7 separate regions of the Homo sapiens genome follow, and all the other regions are linked to region 3. The links are contacts of gene promoters, found by promoter capture Hi-C in blood cells and fetal thymus (Javierre and others, 2016). All regions are on one chromosome and are shown on one strand. The core of a region is centred on a gene start or on the middle of the fragment in contact, and the rest is flanking DNA. Distances in the headings are between cores, read along the strand shown. Region 1 holds the start of SMG9 (SMG9 nonsense mediated mRNA decay factor). Region 2 holds the start of ZNF285 (zinc finger protein 285). Region 3 holds the start of ZNF225 (zinc finger protein 225). Region 4 overlaps ZNF180 (zinc finger protein 180). Region 5 has its middle 12 kb from the start of ZNF283. Region 6 overlaps CEACAM20 (CEA cell adhesion molecule 20). Region 7 has its middle 17 kb from the start of ZNF285.

Evidence for each region. The method cuts DNA at HindIII sites, captures the fragments that hold promoters and counts their contacts. A CHiCAGO score of 5 or more calls a contact.
Region 1: the fragment with the promoter of SMG9 here is called in contact with the fragment with the promoter of ZNF225 in region 3 in 1 of 17 cell types (total CD8 T cells); the score reaches 5.2 in total CD8 T cells.
Region 2: the fragment with the promoter of ZNF285 here is called in contact with the fragment with the promoter of ZNF225 in region 3 in 14 of 17 cell types (total B cells, naive B cells, naive CD8 T cells and 11 more); the score reaches 21.0 in total B cells.
Region 4: a fragment that was not itself captured here is called in contact with the fragment with the promoter of ZNF225 in region 3 in 15 of 17 cell types (naive B cells, naive CD8 T cells, total CD4 T cells and 12 more); the score reaches 13.1 in naive B cells.
Region 5: a fragment that was not itself captured here is called in contact with the fragment with the promoter of ZNF225 in region 3 in 2 of 17 cell types (erythroblasts and M2 macrophages); the score reaches 7.3 in erythroblasts.
Region 6: a fragment that was not itself captured here is called in contact with the fragment with the promoter of ZNF225 in region 3 in 10 of 17 cell types (erythroblasts, fetal thymus, monocytes and 7 more); the score reaches 14.0 in erythroblasts.
Region 7: a fragment that was not itself captured here is called in contact with the fragment with the promoter of ZNF225 in region 3 in 1 of 17 cell types (erythroblasts); the score reaches 6.2 in erythroblasts.

Annotation. Positions count from the first base shown.
Region 1 is chr19:43,753,660-43,756,359 of GRCh38, forward strand. It overlaps SMG9 (SMG9 nonsense mediated mRNA decay factor), which reads right to left and starts at 1,303. Exons shown (of 14, transcript NM_019108.4): 1 at 995-1,303. RefSeq lists an enhancer at 234-493 and a silencer at 724-1,083. The HindIII fragment of the contact is 6,293 bases long and covers 679-2,700 here.
Region 2 is chr19:44,400,310-44,403,009 of GRCh38, forward strand. It overlaps ZNF285 (zinc finger protein 285), which reads right to left and starts at 1,299. Exons shown (of 4, transcript NM_152354.6): 1 at 1,259-1,299. RefSeq lists an enhancer at 696-1,452. The HindIII fragment of the contact is 3,728 bases long and covers 952-2,700 here.
Region 3 is chr19:44,111,977-44,114,685 of GRCh38, forward strand. It overlaps ZNF225 (zinc finger protein 225), which reads left to right and starts at 1,423. Exons shown (of 5, transcript NM_013362.4): 1 at 1,423-1,593. It overlaps ZNF225-AS1 (ZNF225 and ZNF224 antisense RNA 1), which reads right to left and starts at 1,207. Exons shown (of 2, transcript NR_033341.1): 1 at 846-1,207. RefSeq lists a silencer at 1,134-1,484 and an enhancer at 1,177-1,876. The HindIII fragment of the contact is 4,811 bases long and covers 626-2,709 here.
Region 4 is chr19:44,486,230-44,489,211 of GRCh38, forward strand. All of the region lies in intron 2 of ZNF180 (zinc finger protein 180), which reads right to left. Among named protein-coding and RNA genes, the nearest start is that of ZNF180, 13 kb to the right of the region's middle. The HindIII fragment of the contact is 7,682 bases long and covers 1-2,982 here.
Region 5 is chr19:43,814,285-43,817,307 of GRCh38, forward strand. It overlaps a transcript of LYPD5 not described here. Among named protein-coding and RNA genes, the nearest start is that of ZNF283, 12 kb to the right of the region's middle. The HindIII fragment of the contact is 4,808 bases long and covers 1-3,023 here.
Region 6 is chr19:44,507,383-44,510,397 of GRCh38, forward strand. All of the region lies in intron 11 of CEACAM20 (CEA cell adhesion molecule 20), which reads right to left. Among named protein-coding and RNA genes, the nearest start is that of ZNF180, 8.4 kb to the left of the region's middle. The HindIII fragment of the contact is 794 bases long and covers 1,369-2,162 here.
Region 7 is chr19:44,417,175-44,419,959 of GRCh38, forward strand. No RefSeq gene overlaps it. Among named protein-coding and RNA genes, the nearest start is that of ZNF285, 17 kb to the left of the region's middle. The HindIII fragment of the contact is 2,484 bases long and covers 11-2,494 here.

The sequences.
Region 1 (2,700 bases), core at 53-2,552, 360 kb before region 3:
CATGTTGGCCAGGCTGGTATCGAACTCCTGGCCTCAAGTGATTCGCCAGCCTCGGTCTCCCAAAGTGATCGGATTCCCCGGGTAAGCCACCGCACCTGGCCTCCCTGTGCCCTTTATTCTGGGAGCTTCCACAGTATCTGAATGTGGGGAGTTCCTTGGAACTTAAAAGCCCACCTAAACCAGGTGTGGAGGATACAGTGAGCCGAGATCGTGCCACTGCACTCCAGCCTGGGCGACAGAGCGAGACTCTTGTCTCAAAGAAAAAAAAAAAAAACCCCACCCACATGCAAGCTGGGGACTTCCAATGCTGTTTCCGGGCTCCTTTGGGGATTACCCCCAAACTTAGGAAAGCTGGTCTATTTAAGTGTCTGCTGATGGACTTCTAGGGTGACTTCCCGAAAATTAACAAATCGAATTTACATATTTTTGGGGAGTGTCTCCTCAGTATTTAGGCATCGCTTCACACACTCCCTTCGGGGATCTCCCAGAACCTCACTATTTGCAAATATTTGGGGAGACTCTCCCGATTCCTGAGTATGTAAGCCCACTTCGTGGGGCACTCCCCAGCCCAGAACTGTAGTCGATTTGCACATTTTCCTAAGGACTCCCTAGGATTTAAACTTCTCTCTACGGGGTTCTAGAAGGGAGCCTCCCCCGGATTTAGGCATTGCTTTACAAAGCTTCCCTCGGGGAACCCAACTCAAGTTTCTCGTTACACGTTATTGGGGCGGCCTCCCCAGTACTTGACGGGCAGTTTGCAGGCTGTACTTGGATCTCGCAGAGCATAAGTTTCTCATTTACACGTTATTTCCGTCCCCCGCCCCCATTCCTGCCAACCCAGTATCGAATTGACGGTCGCCGGCCCCCTACTCAGTGCCGCACCCCCGCCGGACGTCCCAGCGACCTTTCAATGGCCAAGGCGGGGGCGGGGCCTGCCGGAGCGCCCCGCCCGCCGCCGGTGCGCTAGCCTCGCGCGGGCTCGCGGCCCCCTTACCTAACGCGGCTGCTGATTGGTTCTCGGGGCGCGGTGTGCGCTCTCCCGTGACGGGAGTCGGGTGGGGGCGGGGAGGCTGACCCAAGCCACCCGCCTGCAAATGGCGTCTGGGGGCCAGGAACGTGGGAAGGAGAGAAAATGGGCACTCCCCACTCCGAAACCGGCCTCGGCGTCCGGGTTGCAGCCCCTAAGGAAAGCTGGGCCGAAGGAAGAAGAGGAGGAGGATGTAACGCGGGCCCGAGCTGAGATCAGTTCCCTCAGGCGACTCGTCCTGCGCATGCGCTGAGGGCTGGAGCTCGAGAACTGAATGCGCTCGCCGGGCTGAGCGTGCGTGGATGGAGGCGGTCGGCTTCAGCACGCATGCGGGTTCCGGAGCGGGAGGCGGGAGGACGCCGCGGCTCTGACTCAATGCGCGTGCGCGCGGTTGGGGGGTTGAGGGTGGGGAGATGAGTAGGGAAATGGATACGCCGAGGAGCCGGCAGGAGGGAGAGCGGCCCGGATCTGGGGTTCGAGTTGTGCCTCTTCGGTGATGTTGGCGGGATGCAGTGGGGTGGGACGACAGGGAGGAATTTCACTGTTCTGGGCTGAGTGCCAAGAACACATGAATGAATCAGACTTGGCGTGCGCCCTGGAAGACACCCCGGCCTGTGGAGAGACTGCCAGGGCCTCAAATCACTTAGGAAAGGGCGCGGGTCCGGTTGGACCTTGAAGGACAGGCAGGCGAGGGTACTCCAGGGAACAGCTAAGCAAAGGCGGCGAAGACCCCGGGGGAAGAGGTCTAGACTGGCTTGGATTCAGGGTCCACCTGGGTGGGAGGTGAGGCAGCAGAATGGGCAGGTCAGACCCTGAAGGGTCTCCAGTGTCAGTTTTATCCTTAAGGCCTGGGAGATGCAGAATAGTCTGAGACAGAACTATGTTTAAAACCCTCGAAGGCCGCGTTGGAGAAGGGAATCCGCTCCAGGGTCGAAAATTTAAACACACGTGGGCGGAGTCTTGCGCGCGCCAAAGAGGAACATTGGGCGACGGGCGCGGCCTGGAGAGCGCATGCGCATTCGGAAGGGTCGGCAGTTCCCCAGTGGGCAGAGTGGGTGGATGGGAAGGTTCTAGCTTTTTATTTGAAATTTTATTTATTTTTATTTTATTTATTTATTTAGAGACGGAGTCTCGCCCTGTCACCCAGGCTGGCGTGCAGTGGCGAGATCTCGGATCACTGCCGTCTCCACCTCCTGAAATTCAAGCGATTCTCCTGCCTCAGCCTCCCAAATAGCTGGGATTACAGGCGTCCACCACGCCTGGCTAATTTTTTGTATTTTTAGTAGAGACTGGGTTTTGCCATGTTGGCCAGGCTGGTCTCGAACTCCTGACCTCAAGTGATCCGCCCGCCTCGGCCTCCTAAAGTGCTAGGATGACAGGCGTGAGCCACCGTGGCTGGTCTAAAAAAAAGTTTTTTAAAATTATATTTGAACAGGTATTACATGTACATACACAATTCAAACCTCTCTGGCTGTATACAATAAAAGTAAGTTTCCACCTCTGGTTCCCATTTTCCTTTCCTAAAGCACTGGTTCCCGGTTTCCTTCTGGAGCTGCTGTTATAATAAAGCATTGGAGTTAAGAGCATGTGTTGAGTTCATATAAATAGCGGCTGAGCTTGACCAAGTGACTTAATACTCTCTACTTCTACGTCCCTGTTTGTGAATTGGGTGT
Region 2 (2,700 bases), core at 49-2,548, 290 kb after region 3:
CCTAGAGGAAAAGTGCAGCTGAATCTGGAACTGCAATTGCCCAGAAACACGATCAGAAATGTAATAAATGCTGCTATTACACCTAAAATAATTAACACTAAATCTCTAACTTTATCAAATATACAGAGAGTGTTCAAACTTCAAATTTGTTGAGTGTAATTTAACAACTTATATTTGCTAATGTGCTTTATAATACTCAAAGTCCCTACTCCCTGGCTCACAGCATGTGAGGTGAGAATGGAGTTAATAATTTGGGGCAGTTCTTTTCTTTTCTTTTTTCTTTGAGACAGAGTCTGGCTCTGTCGCCCAGGCTGGAGTGCAGTGGCGTGATCTCAGCTCACTGCAAGCTCCGCCTCCCGGGTTCACGCCATTCTCCTGCCTCAGCCTCCCGAGTAGCTGGGACTACAGGCGCCTGCCACCGTGCCCGGCTAATTTTTTGTAATTGTTTTTTGTAGTAGAGACGGGGTTTCACCGTGTTAGCCAGGATGGTCTCGATCTCCTGACCTCGTGATCCGCCCACTTTGGCCTCCCAAAGTGCTGGGATTACAGGCGTGAGGCACCGCGCCAGGCCTGGGACAGTTCTTTTCAAAATGTATTCGGTGACATTAAACTCTGGAGTTATTACAGTATTACAGTCTGAGTTGTTTCTTTATTGCCAAAAGCCAGAACCTCTGCCTTGAAGTCATAAATGCCCCAATGGAGTCAGAGCTGCCAAAATCCAGAGTTCAGACCCAAGACAACTCCCCATCCAAGAACCTAGGGGTGCTGAGCCAGAATCGCCCCCACCAAACTGAGCGAGAACAGCCGAAGCCATCCTCTATATCCAGAGACTAGCTGCTTAAGCAAATCCCTCATCCCATTCAGGGACGCACAGTCCAGCCATTACTCCAAAACCCTGAGCCAGCGCCCCTCTGCCCTCATCCAGAGATGCACATCCCAAGACTGACCCTAAGCTTCGACCCGAGGAGGCACAGCGCAAGTCGCTGTCACGAAACGTGAAGATGCACTGTTTTGTCAAACCCAGGGCTGCTCCCCAAACCGAGCCCACGCTCGAGCCCACGCTCTTCCCATCCTATCCCGGGTAGGTCGGGCCGCTGAACTTCCCTAGTCTACCCCACCTACGAGGCCTTATCATTGGTTACCAGTCCCCTCTTCCACTCCTCCTACTTCAGTCCACAGGGACGGGTCACAGCTGCACATCCTACACTCCTACTCCTGGCTACGCCTCCAAGAGGGGCGCGGTACAGACGGGACTCACCCCAGCGTCCCAAACAATGTCGCCCGCAGCGTGCGTCCAGTACCATGGCGCATGCGCAAGGAGGCCTATGGCCTACAATCCCCAGAAAGCCCCGCGCGCAGCAGTGGCCATTCGCAAGGCTACCCTGGTGAAGGTGGCCTTTGACTTCCGTGCATTTGGAAGTCCTTTGACTTCCGTGCATTCGTCTAAAATAACGACAATCATAATAACGATAAAATAATGAAATGTTAAATAAATCACTATCAACGATGAAAAGAAGTTTCAATATTTTACTACTTGGAAATGGGCACTTTACCGTTTTAGTGAAGACTTTTATAAGTTCTTATTTTATAGGCATGTCTTTTAACGTTAAAACCACGAAACTTTTCAATTAACACTCACTTAAATAATTCCCTCCCCGCCCCCCACCATGTTTTATTTCTGTTGATGAAAACTCTGGATAATCTACACTTGCGATATAACATAGCCCTGTAATTTATTTCCTAGTCTCAGAAGAAGCAGAAGGAATTAACAACTATTGTCTGAATCCTTAACAGGGGAATTGCAGGAGTACTGAGAGTGTCCTAAAAGAGACACATTACAACATAACAAGAAAACGCGGGAAGTTTTCAGATTCTTTTTGAAAATTTGCCCTTGTTGAGACTTAGGCTTTATTTTACTTCATGTTATTGCATTTAAGATTTAAGATTTCTATTAAAGAAAAATTTGGGTACCCTAAATGGGGTAAGAAAATTGAATAGGAATTCCATTAGAGGCCCACAGTTTTAGCCTGGAGGAAAGCCCTGATAACGTGTGAGAACAATCTGTCTCCTAGGAAAGGTCACCTGGTCCTGCTGGCAGAGTCTCTGTTTGGAATATCTGGCTGGCATTCCCTTTTCCACGCACCCTCAAGCTGTAGGGGTGGTGAGGCGGTTCCAGTCCTAGACTAGATAGAGAAGTGAAGACCCCCACCTCTACGCAATGGGCAGGAAATGGTTGAATAATATCCAACTATAGCTTGACATCGCAGCTTAGGGCACATAAAGGGACAGTGCAATTGTTTTGGCTTATCTCTGTCTTTTGATGTTTACATGTTTGATGTTCTTATATATTGCTCTAAGTTGAAGGATTACTTGATTTAATTTGACATACTTGAATTTTAAAAAACGAGTTCAGGAACATTTTTATTTTTGACCTAATACAAGGTTAATTTTTGTGACATCTGTGTCTGTTGGAAAACAATGTGTCTTCTCTATCAGATGGATATGCATACATTTATATTTTCCCCAGACTTGCTAACTGTGCTATTTAAATTTCCTACATGCTTATTTGTGCTTACTTAGATTTTTTCATTATGCATCTGTCAACGATTGAAAAGTGCATGTCAAAAAGGTTCCCAGTCTGGGCGTGGTGGCTCAAGCCTGTAATCTCAGTACTTTGGGAGGCCGAGGTGGGCAGATCAC
Region 3 (2,709 bases), core at 173-2,672:
GAAGAAGAGAAAGAGAAACGGGTTCCTCCATAGAGGAAGGGGTCTCCGAGCGGAAAAGGGTCGGCTGGCAGTGAATGTGCTGAGTTTTACAGACCAGTTTGAGGAGGCAGTGTCTGATTTACATAGGGGTCATAGATTGGTTCGATCAGTTATGACGTTTACATAGTGCGTGGGGAAGGCTGGTCGCCCCACCCTAATCTTCTTATGCAAATAGGCTTCCCAGTTGATTGGCCCATCTTGCCAGCTTCTTACTGTGCACGTGGCTGACAAAGAGAAGGGAAGATGGAGCCGCCATCTTTAACATGATTGGCACAACTGCTGGTATCTATGTCTGCGGCAGCTGGATTTTACAGGCTGCTCTTCCTTAGGAAGGGAAATAATTTGGGGCTGCTTTTCATTAAAAAGAAAAGCCTTACCGAGGGCTCCCATACCCTATCTGCCTAAGTGATGGCTTCTTAACTCGTATATATTAACAACACTGTATTCGTACTAGATGCCATTGCCATTGAATTATGTGCCTTAAAATAATTTTGTTTTGTGAATTACACCTCAAAAATATTTTTTAAATAATAAAACGACCACGTTAAAAACGTTTTGCATAGCGAAAAACAAGTCAAAGGAAAAAAGCTTTTTGGTTGAGCAATATTTGATACAATGTTAATATGAGTATGTAAATAATACTTAACGGAGGGGAAAAAACTAAACACTCAATAGAAATGTGGGCAAACTATTTGACCAATTCACAAAGACTATAATAGTGGCAACGGAAAATATGCACGGATGTTCCACTTTATTTACAAAAGAACAAATACAAATTAAAACTACATTTAGAAACCATTTCTTACCATTAGATTAGCAAAACTTAACTCCTCGAAGACTGTGTCTTCTCGCTTGTTCCCTTTCCAATAACACTCCTGTTATCATTGGAGGCGTTTAGACTTCAGAAATTCCTGTCTATTCAGTATTTTCTGTCCTGGACCAGGGAGAGAGAAGGACGACTCTCAGGATAACAGTTCACATTCCCCACTAGGCAGGCGCTCGTGGCTTTGGGATTCGTTCCCAGTGGGCACCTCGGAGTGGCAACGCTTCCCCCTGAAGAATGAGATTTTGAGCGTTTTTCCTTCAGCATTCGGAGGAGTGTAATCCAAATGCTCTGTGGAGTCGTACACACTGGCTCCAGAAGGAGGATACAAGCAATTCTGGGAATGGTAGTCCAGACGCTCAGTGGAGTAGCGGTCAGCTTGGCTCCGGCAGGCGAATCAGGGGATTTCTGGGAAATGTAGTCCAGACGCTCAGTGGAGTCTCGGTCAATTTGACTCCGGCAGGTGGATCCCAGGGAATTCTGGGAAGTGTAGTCCAGACGCTCGGGGTCGTCGCGGTCAGTTTGTCTCAGGAATTCTGGGAAGTGGAGTCCAGACACTCAGTGGAGTAGCGGGCCACTTCCGCTCCGTTACTGTGAGGTTGCTGCAGTTTTGTCCCTGGTAGTTTGGGTCAGTTCCGCGAGACCCTTCTGAATTTCCTGGACCTACGCATTGGATCCTTAACGAACTGGTGATCGAATTAGGGGAAAAGAAACCTCGTCGGAGAGCAGAGGTTTGGCGGAGCGGGGCCGCTGTTTTCGTTCTCGTCAGTGGAGCCTTCTTGGGCTTGGGGCTCTCCTCGCGTCCCCGGGGTGTTTGGGACTTGGTCGGGTCGCGTCTCGCCTGGTTTTAGGGTCTCCGGGGCTCTGAGCTCGCCCACTCGGCCTCCCTGCACCCCACGCGCGTGGCCACTTCCTCGCGATAAAACGCTGGGATGTTACTTAATCTCCTTGGGTCTCCCGTTACAGTTCTTTAAGATGGGGAGTTTAGGACCATCCTAATAGAATCGTTTTGGGAACTGAAAGCGGTAACACAAATGAGAGCCTTAAAGCAGCCCCTGTCACTTGGTGACTGGTGGTCTCTTGTTAATTTCCCACGAAGCCTGTCAGGTCCCCGGGTGGGGTGAAACTCCAGCTGCAGGGGCACCGGCCCTTCTCCCTGATTCCTGCAAGACGCTGGGTGATCCCGGACGCCTTCTGACCTCTCTTTTAGGAAGGCGAGGGTTGCATCCACTTCCAGGAGGGGAGAGGAGCATTTAACTTTTATGGGGCACGGCGACCACGGTCAGAGTGTTTCACAGCCTTCTCCTTACCCAGCCCGACCTTTCCAAAAGAGCTGCAGGGAGGGACTTCTTGGCTTCTGAGGGCAAAGCTCTACGTGAGTGATCCTTGGCTTTTTTCTTTGACAGAGATGCTCACCCCAACCGAGAGTGTATAGGATGTGTCTTCGGGCATGGGTGTTGCTTTCAGTTGTCATGTTTTTCTAGTCTTTAATCTTGAAAGATAGCATAGCTTTCATCGTTTTTTCTTGGTATTTTATCCTTGTTATTTTTGAAGAGTATAGATGAAGTTATTTTGGTCAAAGATGTTCATTTGGAGTTTTTCTGATGTATTTCACGTTTAACTTCAAAATATGCATTTTTTGCTGGAATACCACAGAAGTGGTAAATCTCTCTCTCTCTTTTTTTTTCTTGAGACGGAGTTTCGCTCTTGTCGCCCAGGCTGTAGTGCATGGCACGATCTCAGCTCATTGCAACATCCACCTCCTGGGTTCAAGCTATTCTCCTGCCTCAGCCTCCCAAGTAGCTGGGATTACAGGTGCCTGCCACCACATCCGGCTAATTTTTGTA
Region 4 (2,982 bases), core at 20-2,519, 370 kb after region 3:
ATAAAATATAAATATGCACGGAAAAATCTGGAAAGATGTTCTCAAAAGCATTAAAAGGAGTTATTCTTTGAAGGGGTAGAACTGAGGAGCAGGTTCACTGTCTCTCTTTTAATGCTGCATCCATGTTTTTCAAAACCACTTATTTTAATTAAATATTTGGAAACCAGGAAAGGTGCTTCCCTCTTTAAAAATCACCTTGAAACAACGCAATTCCTTTGTAGTGTCCTCAGGTTTTTTCCTACAGGATACAATAATTCAGTCTGTTAAATGATAGCCCATTCAAGGATACTTTGCTCCTCCTCAAATCAAACACTGAAAAGCAACTACTGCTAATTTTTGATAACTCATTTCTTTAGAAGCCATTGGATCAAAAACTAAAAGAAAATAAAAGTGGCCAGGTGCAGCAGTTCATACCTGTAATCACAGTGCTTTGGGAGGCTGAGGTGGAAGGATCACTTGAGCCCAGGAGTTCGAGCCCAGCCTCAGCAACACAGTGAGGCTCCCCTGTCTATACAAAATATATAAAATAGGCCGGGCATGGTGGCTCACACCTGTAATTCTAGCACTTTGGGAGGCCGAGGTGGGCAGATTGCCTGAACTCAGGAGTTCGAGACCAGCCTGGTCAACATGGCGAAACCCCATCTCTACTAAAAATACAAAAAAATACAAATTAGCTAGGTGTGGTATACCTGTAGTCCCAGCTACTTGGGAGGCTAAGGCATGAGAATCACCTGAACCGGAAGTTGGAGTTTGCAGCAAGCTGAGACCATGCCACTTCACTCCAGCCTGGGCAAGAGAGTGAGACTCCATCTCAAAAAATAATAAATAAATAAATAAATAAATAAGCCAGGCACGGTGGTATGTGCCTACAGTCCCAGCTACTTGGGAGGCAAAGATGGGAGGATCACTTGATGTGGAGAGGTCAAGGTATAAGTGTGTCAATTTTTTCTCCTTATCTATCTAGAAAATATTTTACTATTACAGTAGGAATGGTTATTAAAAATGGCTAGCATTAATGTATTTAAAGGTAGGAAAGGATTCTCCAAACCTAAAAACACCACTGTATATTTACTGGGTAGGTTGTGAGGTTCACAATAAGTATCAAAGAGCCAGAGCTGCTGCAATGTAAAGAAGGCCCAATGTGAAAGCCAAGAGGTTGTGTTGCTTGCATTACTACCACACATACTACAACAGTTAAACTGCCTTTTTATTTTTTGTAGAAGACAGGGTCTCGTCATGTTGCCCAGACTGGTCTCAAACTGCTGGTCTCAGCGCCATGACAGTTTTGTCAGGAAGTTACCCTCTATGGTCTAAAAAGGAGAGGAACCCTCAGTTCTGGGAATTGCCCACCCCAGTCCTGGAAAACTCATGAATAATCCACCCCTTGTTTAGCAGAAAATCAAGAAATAACCATAAAAATGGGCAACCAGAAGCCCCTGGGGCTGCTCTGCTTATGGAGTAGCCATTCCTTATTCTTTTACTTTTTTGTTTGTTTGTTTGTTTTGGTTTTGGTTTTGAGACAGAGTCTCGCGCTGTCCCCAGGCTGGAGTGCAGTGGCATGATCTCAACTCACTGCAACCTCCACCTCCGGGGTTCAAGTGACTCTCCTGCCTCAGCCTCCTAAGTAGCTGGGACTACAGGCGCACATCACCACGCCCAGCTAATTTTTGTATTTTTTGTAGAGATGGGGTTTCACCATGTTGGCCAGGATGGTCTTGACCTCTTGACCTTGTGATCTGCCCACACTGGCCTCCCAAAGTGCTGGGATTACAGGCGTGAGCCACCGTGCCCAGACTACTTTTAAAAATAAACTTGACGCCCTCGCCCTCGCCCTTGCCCTCTCCCTCTCCCTCTCCCCACGGTCTCCCTCTCCCTCTCTTTCCACGGTCTCCCTCTCCTTCTCTTTCCACGGTCTCCCTCTCCCTCTCTTTCCACGGTCTCCCTCTCCTTCTCTTTCCACGGTCTCCCTCTCCCTCTCTTTCCACGGTCTCCCTCTCCCTCTCCCTCTCTTTCCACGGTCTCCCTCTCCCTCTCTTTCCACGGTCTCCCTCTCCCTCTCTTTCCACGGTCTCCCTCTGATGCCGAGCCGAAGCTGGACTGTACTGCTGCCATCTCGGCTCACTGCAACCTCCCTGCCTGATTCTCCTGCCTCAGCCTGCCGAGTGCCCGCGATTGCAGGCGTGCGCCGCCACGCCTGACTGGTTTTCGTATTTTTTTGGTGGAGACGGGGTTTCGCTGTGTTGGCCGGGCTGGTCTCCAGCTCCTAACCTGAGTGATCCGCCAGCCTCGGCCTCCCAAGGTGCTGGGATTGCAGACGGAGTCTCGTTCACTCAGTGCTCAATGGTGCCCAGGCTGGAGTGCAGTGGCGTGATCTCGGCTCGCTACAACCTCCACCTCCCAGCTGCCTGCCTTGGCCTCCCAAAGTGCCAAGATTGCAGCCTCTGCCCAGCTGCCACCCCGTCTGGGAAGTGAGGAGCGTCTCTGCCTGGCTGCCCATTGTCTGGGATGTGAGGAGCCCCTCTGCCTGGCTGCCCAGTCTGGAAAGTGAGGAGCGTCTCTGCCCGGCGGCCATCCCATCTAGGAAGTGAGGAGCACCTCTGCCCGGCCGCAACCCCGTCTGGGAGGTGAGGAGCATCTCTGCCCGGTCGCCCCATCTGAGAAGTGAGGAGACCCTCTGCCTGGCAACCGCCCCGTCTGAGAAGTGAGGAGCCCCTCCGCCCGGCAGCCGCCCCGTCTGAGAAGTGAGGAGCCCCTCCGCCCGGCAGCCACCCTGTCTGGGAAGTGAGTAGCGTCTCCGCCCGGCAGCCACCCCGTCCGGGAGGGAGGTGGGGGTCAGCCCCCGCCCGGCCAGCCGCCCCGTCCGGGAGGGAGGTGGGGGGGCCAGCCTCCCGCCCGGCCAGCCGCCCCGTCCGGGAGGGAGGTGGGGGGGCCAGCCCCCCGCCGGGCCAGCCGCCCCGTCTGGGAGGTGAGGGGCGCCTCTGC
Region 5 (3,023 bases), core at 251-2,750, 300 kb before region 3:
AGTTCAAAATCAATCTGGGCAACATAGGGAGACCCCATCTCTACAAAACATTCAAAACAAATTAGCAGGTGTAGTGGTGCACACCTGTAGTCCTAGCTACTGGGGAGGCTGAAATGAAAAAATCACTTGAACCCAAGAGATTGAGGCTGCAGTGTGCTATGATCCTGCCACTGCACTCCAGCCTGGGTAACAGAGAAAGACCTGTCTCTAAAACAAACAAACAAACAAATGAAGTGAAGATCTCCAATCACAGCTCTGTACACCAGGATTTACCTTCACCACTGCCTGTAGGACCCACCTCTGAGTAGTGGTCCCGTAATATGATAATTTAGGTTCAGCTTCCAAAATACATCAGTCACACTGATCCATCTGTGAGCCAGACCTTTTCTTCCTTAATATTCTACAGGAAAATCTTCATATGATGTCATGAATGTGAATTAAAGGAACAACATAGCTGCAACCAAGGTCAGTGACATGAGAGTCTGAGCTGTCTGTGTGTGTAACTCTTTTGTGCCATCTAGATCTCTTACAATGAATTAATACTGTGCCCAAATCGCACTATGACTTAGTGGGTTAGATACCCAACTCATGACAGGTAGTTTTAGTCATATAGATACTTGATGTCCCATGGTCAAAATCACAGACTCTATTAGTACTCAGCAGCTGGTTTTCAAATTGAAAGCACTTATATGCTGCATAATAAATGGACTTACTTCAGAACCTTACGGGCTGTAATTTTGCTTTTGTATCTTGCCAGAGACTCCACATAACAGCTTCAACCATTATGGATAGAGGTGACACCATCAAAGTTGCTGATTCATGTGGCTCAGGGACAGGGAGATTGCATCGCAGGCTTTACCTGCTGTAGAGCTCTCACCTGCTTTGAAACTCAGCAGCCTTCAAGTTTATCTGAAAAATGAGTCAGAACAAAATTCCAGGCCAGTCATGATGGGTCACGCCTGTAATCTCAGCACTTTGGGAGGCCGAAAGTGGGGGGATTGTTTGAGGCCAGGAGTTTGAGGCCAGCCTGGGCAATATAGTGAGAACCTATTTCTAAAAAAAAAAAGAAAGAAAGAAAAAGGAGTTTGAGACCAGCATGGGCAACACACGGAGACCCCGTCTCCACAAAAAATTTAAAAACTAGCTGTGCACGGTGGCATGTGCCTGTAGTCCCAGTTACTCGGGAGGCTGAGGTGGGAGGATCTACTTGAGCCAGGGAGGTCAAGGCTGCAGTGAGCTGTGATCATGCCACTGCACTCCAGCCTGGGCAATAGAGCAAGACTCTGTCTAAAACAAAAACAAAACCAAAAACCAGCTATAAAAGACACCTAGAACTATTAAAAAAAGAGAAAAAAAGAACACTATTCTGAAGTGTGATTTATATATGTATCATATAAATCATATATGTTATATATAAACACACATCTATATATACCCATCTATTATTTTTATTTTATTTTATTTTATTTTTGAGACGGAGTTTCACTTTGTCACCCTGGCTGGAGTGCAGTGGCGCGATCTCAGCTCACTGCAACCTCTGCTTCCCGACTTCAAGCGATTCCCCTGCCTCAGCCTCCTGAGTAGCTGGGACTACAGGTGTGCACCACCATGCCTAATTTTTGTATTTTTAGTAGAGATGGAGTTTCACCATGTTGGCCAGGCTGGTCTCGAACTCCTAACCTCAAGCGATTCACCCGCCTTGGCCTCCCAAACTGCTGGGATTCCAGGTGTGAGCCACCACGCCCCACTCTATCTATCTATCTATCTATCTATCTATCTATCTATCTATCTATCTACCTATCATGTATCTATCACTTTCAAATGTCAAAGAGCCCTACCAAATTATGTGCCTGTTTATCAGTTTAGGAAGTGTGAGTTGTAATAACTTATTCTTTACCTTAAGGGAGATACTATGGCATGTCCCAGATGATTGGACTTCTAAAATCTTCACTGATGTGGTAAGTTAGTGAACATTCATGAGGTTTATCTCCCTCTTTCTGTCACTCATTTGCATTACTATGGCTTCTACAGTGATTGCCACTTCCTGATCACCAGGTCAAATTAGCATGATTTTATTGGTGGAATGAACCAGTGCTATGTTCTTCAGAATGTAAAGATGATCAAGGCCTCTGTGGACTACAATATGACGGAGATTAGGAGGGTTATCAGGAACCTGGGGCAAGACAGTGCTGCAGTCCTTACCATGCACACATGAATGGCTTTTAATTCTCCTAAATGTCAGAGATCAAGTAAAATACATTTGTCAGATCATTAAGCACATACTAAGGACCAAAAACTAGGTTGGTCAACTCCAGTAAAGATGTCACATCTGACATAGCAGCTGAAATTGGAGCTGCTATTTGTTTACATTTAAAGTAGTCACTATGAATTAGCTTTGGCCACATAATAAGTGATACGGTTTGGCTGTGTCCCCACCCAAATCTCATCTTGAATTGTAGCTCCCATAATTCCCACATGTTGTGGGAGGAACCCGGTGAGAGATAACTGAATCATGGGGGTGGTTTCCCCCATACCGTTCTCATGATAGTGAATAAGTATTATCAGAGCTGATGGTTTTATAAGGGGAAACCCTTTTTGCTTGGCTCTCATTCTCTTTGCTGGCTGCCATGTAAGATGTCTCTTTGTTCTCTTTTGCTCTTCTGCTATGATTGTGAGGCCTCCCCAGGCATGTGTAACTATGAGTCCATTAAACCTGTTTTTCTTTATCAGTTACCCAGTCTTGGGTATGTCTTTATCAGCAGCATGAAAACAGACGAAAACAATCAGTAACCCCAAAACTCAGAGGCTTGAAATTACGAATATTATTTCTCACAATTCTGGGGGCTTTCTGAGCATTTCTTTTGCTCTGGGCTGGTTTGGCTGCAGCTGCATAGTATAGTCAGGCCTCACTCAAAGTTCTAATGGTTGGTTGGTTATTGTGGGGGAGGGGGCATGAGAATGACTTGGCCTTATGTTTCTCATCATCCCTCAGTCTAGTTCACGCTTGCATGAACCCATGGGAG
Region 6 (3,015 bases), core at 516-3,015, 400 kb after region 3:
ATCAATCTGATTCTTCTATGGAGAATTTGAACCTAGAAATGCTTAAAGGGCAGCAGAAGATGTTGTTATATATACTCTGAAGTTATAGAGAAGCAATGACCAGGACATTTACATAGAAATTCAATCTGGATTGAGAAGAATGAGATGAATTCATAGATTAGTGAAAATGAGAAACTGTATAATAAGAGAGAAACAGCTTCTTGATAGCATTCAAGTCGCCAAGAGGCCCAGGAGTAATTTCTGAAATTGAGTTATCTGATATTTCTCAGTGTTCTCTCAATTAATCCCCATTCGAACTACATTCAAAGGGTTTAACTTTCTTAACATTAAAAATTCTTGACTAAGATATTAATATATGAAACATTCAGCCAGGTGCAGTGGCTTGCGTCTGTAATCCCAATACTCTGGGAGGCCAAGGTGGGATGATCGCTTGAGCCCAGGAATCTGAGGCTGCAGTTGGCCATGATCGCACTACTGCACACAACCTGGGTGAAAGAGCAATACGTTGTCTCAAAAAACTAAAAAGGTGTATAGGATATTCACATTTTTCAAGAATAGTTATCTGTCTGTTAGGCTAAAATCTACCCTTCTTTTACCTATCCTCCATGGTAATTTATGTGCCCTCTGGAACAACAAGGAACACATTTATCCCTCTACTTGAAGCCTGTCAGACACTAAAATATTGGAGTTCTCTGTCCCTAAACTTTCTCTTTTCCAAACCCAAGAAAACCCTGTCAGTAGGACATGGATTTGAGCCCCTGTTCTGGCCTCTCTCTTATTCCTCCTCTGGATAAATTCTGACTGGTCACTGGCTTGTTCAGAATATAGAATCTGAAGTCCATTCTTGGAATTGGAGTAATCTGGCTGTCCTGATGACAGGGTTGAGATCACTTGCATTCTCTAAAATAATTCTACTAGTCCTTAGAACTATGGAGCCATCACTTGACTGCTCTAAACTTGTTACTGGAATTTTGCTTATGCCTGGATGAACTAATAGTTTTCTTCTTTTTTATTTTTTTCTTTCTGAGACAAGGTCTTGTTCTGTTGCCCAGGCTGGAGTGCAGTAGCTCGACCTCAGCTCACTGCAACCTCCGCCTCCCAGGTTCAAGTGATTCTTCTGCCTCAGCCTCCCAAGTAGCTGGGATTACAGGTGCCTGCCACCATGCCCAGCTAATTTTTGTATTTTCAGTAGAGACAGCGTTTCACCATGATGGCCAGGCTGGTCTCTAACTCCTGACCTCAAGTGATCTGCTCGCCTCCACCTCCCAAAGTGCTGGGATTACAGGCGTGAGCCACCGCGCCTGGCCCAGTTTTCTTCTTTTTGAATGATGTAACTAATCATACCTCTCTGTTTTATTGTTACCAGGAAGCTTAGAGACACATAAGAGATATAGTGGCAGATATCACGTAGGCCCAGTATATATTTTTACTTTTTACCCATATATTGACTTCTTGCTATTGTTAAAAATATTTTTTCTGATTGTAATTTCTATTTCTAATTTAACACCATTTTGTAGTGTTGTATATAAACTGCTTCAAATCTTCCATGGGAAAAACTGCTTCAAATCTCCCATGAGAAAAATGTGGGGAAGTAAATATCATGAATGAAATGAAAGATTGGAAAGGAAAGGAAATGAATGAAAAGGAATAGACTATTTAGGAATGTAACTGAAAGAGATGGCAAAGGCATAAATGAAATGGAGGGAAATTGAATAGGACAGAAAGGAATACAATAAAAATTAAAGGCAGAGAATGGAGTGAAATAAAATGGCATGATGTCCAAAGAAGTGCAAATGAAAGAAATTAAATGAAAAGGAAAATTGTAACAGAAAGAAAGAAATAAAGTAAAATAAAATGGAGCAGAAAAGAGAGTAATAAAATAAGGTAATGAGGGGAGAGAAGTGGAGAGGAAATTAGAGAAAAGTAATATAGTAGAAGGAAAGTATAACATTAAAGAATAAAAATAAAGCAACGAAATTAAAAAAAAAACAGAAAAGGGGGGAAATGGAATGCCATGGAATATAAAATAATGAAATGAAATGAAACTGAAATCAATGGTATAAAGAGTAGGAAATGCAAAGGACTGGAAAGAAATGGAAAGAACTTAAATGAAATGAAAAGGAGTGGAATGGAATGACTTGAAAAGAAGAAATTAAATGGAAAGCTTGAAAAGGAAAGTAATAAAGACAAGGGAATGAAGTGCCATAAAGGGCATGAAGGGAGAGGATGAAGTGAGAAAACATGCAGTAGAATGGAATGGAATAGAATAGAGTGGGGTGGATTGGAAAGAAATGAAAAGGGAAAGGAATTGAAGAGAACAGAGGGAGAGGAATGGAAAACAGTGAAATAGAATTGAATGAAAGGGAAGGGTATGGAGAAGAGAAAGTGAATGGAAAAGAAAGAAGGGAATGGGAAAAAAGAAAAATTGAATGGAAAAGAAATATAAAGAATAAGAACTGGAATGTAGTGGAATGAAGTGAAAACCAATCAAATGGAAATGAATGTAAATAGGGACATTGCCTAGGAAGGAATGGAGAGGTAGGAAATAGAACGGATGAAATGGATTAAATATATGGATGGAAATAAGAAGACTGAAATGGGATGGGAAGAATAAGAATGGAAACGAAATAAAGTCGTGGGATGGGAATTGAGTGGGCTGGAATAAAACAGAGTGTAATGGAATGTAAAATAAATGAATTGAAAGGAATTAAAAGAAAAAATAAAAATGGATAAAATGCAATAGAAAGAAAGGAAAAGAATGAAAAGGAATGAAATAAGAAAGAGATGGAAAGGAGTGTAAAGGGATCAAACAAAGCTGAGTGGAATGGAATGAAAAGGCATGGAATGAGCCAGGCAGGGTGGCTCATTCCTGTAATCTCAGCACTTTGGGAGGCCAAGGCGGGCAGATCAATTGAGGTCAGGAATTCAAGACCAGCCTGGCCAACATGGTGAAATCCCGTCTCTACCAAAAAATACAAAAATTAGCTGGGTGTGATGGCTCGTGCCTGCAGTCCT
Region 7 (2,785 bases), core at 3-2,502, 310 kb after region 3:
CAAAGGAATAAGCTTATAAGAGGATGAAGAGTCAGGGAGATGTGGCTCACACCCGTGATCCCATCACTTTGGTAGGCCAAGGCAGGAGAATCACTTGAGCCCAGGATTTTGAGACAAGCCTGGGCAACATAGTGAGACCTCGACTCCACAAAAAAAATAAAAGAAAATTATCAGGTGCAGTGGTGCACACCTGTAGTTGCAGCTACTCAAGAGGCTGAGGATCTCTTGAGGCTCTGATCCGACCATAGCACTAAAGCCTGGGTGACAGGCTGAGATCCTTTCTCAAAAAAAAAAAAAAAGAAAAAAAAAAAGAGGATGGCCAATATCTCCTACCTGGAAAAATTCACATAACGTAATGCCATAATTGTTCACCTGATGGAAAAAAATAAAAGGATTAATAAGAGCCAGGTTTTTTTGTTTGTTTTTCTTTTCACATGGAGTCTTGCTCTTTCACCCAGGCTGGAGTGCAGTGGCTTCCGCCTCAGCCTCCTGAGTAGCTGGGACTACAGGCGCCCACCACCACACCCGGCTAATTTTTCTACTATCAGTAGAGACGGGGCTTCACAATGTTGGCCAGGATGGTCTCGATCTCTTGATCTCGTGATTCACCCGCCTCAGCCTCCCAAAGTGCTGGGATTACAGGTGTGAGCCATTGCGCCCGGCCTAAAATTTTTTTTTAATTAAAAATTAAATAACTAAAAAATGGGTGAAAGACATGACAAGGCAGTGAAAAGAAAAATGACAAAAACACATCAACTATGACCACCTTGACTGTTAGCAATAAAATGAAAACCAACATCCTTTTTATATATCAAGTTGACAAAGATTAAACATTTTTATTATAAATCATGTGATCCTAAATAGTGTGAGAAAATAGACCCTTTTACATTTTAGGCTCAGCGAAAAAAACAAAAACTGTTTTTCCTCTGCTCTCACATCACAACAATCAACACAGAAGATTCCTGTGACAACATGTCTGGGGATTTCTCTCGGTCAGTCAAGCACACCATCCATTCTGCTGTGGACGCCAGCTGGGTGTCTTCTAATTCAATGATGACACTATCTACCTGGCCATAGCATTAGATTCCACAGGGCTCAGTTCTGCAAGACTCGCCTCCCACTGTAATAACAATGGCAAGTCCTATGTTGTTTTACCTGTGCTTCTGACCAACTGGGTATAAATCAGGTTTCCACCACTCCCTGTTTCAGTTGAATTAATTTGCTAGAACAGCTCACACCACACAGGGAAACACTTACATTTACCATTTTATTATAGAGGATGTTGCAAAAAATTCAGAAAAAAAGATTCATGGGGCCTGGCATGGGGGGAGGGGTGCACTACCTTCCAGGAAGTTTTATCCAGAAGCCCTATAAACCCAGTCCTTTTTTGTTTTTATGGAGGCTTCATTACATAGGCATGATGGGTTAAACCATCGGCTATTGGTGATCAACTCAACCTCAGGCTCTCAACCCTCCCTGGAAATTGGGGTTGAGGCATTGCCATTCTTGGTCTGAGTAATAGAATTTACATAAACGGAATTTTAAAACAGATTAGCATAACTGAAAACTTAATTAGATGGTCTAATTATCTGGAGCCACACCTTGATATTCCTAACCTCACCACCCTCATCCTATGAATGCTCCACCCACCTGGCCCCAAAGTCTCTACATGGTTCCAGAGCAGAAGAATGTTTATACAATGCATATCTCCACTTTTTCTTAAAAGTCTTTTTGCTTACATGGGTAATTCTTAAACTGCCATACATCAGGGTCAGGGGGAAGGCTTGAGAGAACCTAGATTTGTGGATCTCCGGGGCTTGAGGGTTGCAAGGATGCTGCTGGTCTCAAAACCACAACGTGAGAACCACAGCACTAGATAGTTTTCAATGCATTTAATTAATAATATATTTGGCCAACAAAATTTCTAATTTCTTAGATTGTCCCAAATGCGTCACATGACATCAAATCAGGAGAGCAGTTTCCTAGGAGATGGAGCCTGGAAAAGTTGGGGGAGACACATGAAAGGAGGAGTGAAGCTCCGCCCTTTCTGCTGCCAGGCTGCACCTGAGGCTATTTAAACCCACCCTGGCGGGCCTGTGCCCAGATCTTCCCAGAGCAGAGCAGTGGCTGCAGTGTCACTGCAATGGCCACCACTGCCAGAATGGTGTTACATCAGTCTATTCAAAAGGCTCATTTTGTTAATGATTGGCAAGCCAATTCCACCCAAATGTGGAATTCTCAACAAGGCATTGATCAAAAATTGGCTAATCAAATTAATTATTTAAGACAGTCTGTTACTTGGCTTGGAGATTGGGTAGTGAGTCTCAAACATCGAATGCAAATGCAGTGTGATTGGAACACTTCAGATTTCTGTATCACCCCATGTTCCTATAAAGAGACTGATCATTCATGGTAAATGGTCAAAGGACACCTTCTGGGTAGGGAAGATAATTTATCATTTAATTTAAGATAAATTAAAGAAACAAATTTTTGAAGCTTCTCAAGCTCACTTATCCATTGTGCCTGGAGCTGAGGTGTTAGATCAGGTGGCAGAAAATCTTTATGGATTAAACCCCATGACTTGGATTAAGTCTATTGGGGGCTCCTCTGCAGTGAATTTTGGAAATATGTTTCTCTGTTTAATCAGCTTGTCTTTAGTGTGTGGAACCAGTCAAAGAATCCTGAGTCAAAATTGAGAGAACGAACAAGCCTTCATCACCTTGGCACATTTATATAAAAAAAAAAAAAAATGGGAGAGATGTTGCGGGAAGTCAGGGACTCCGAA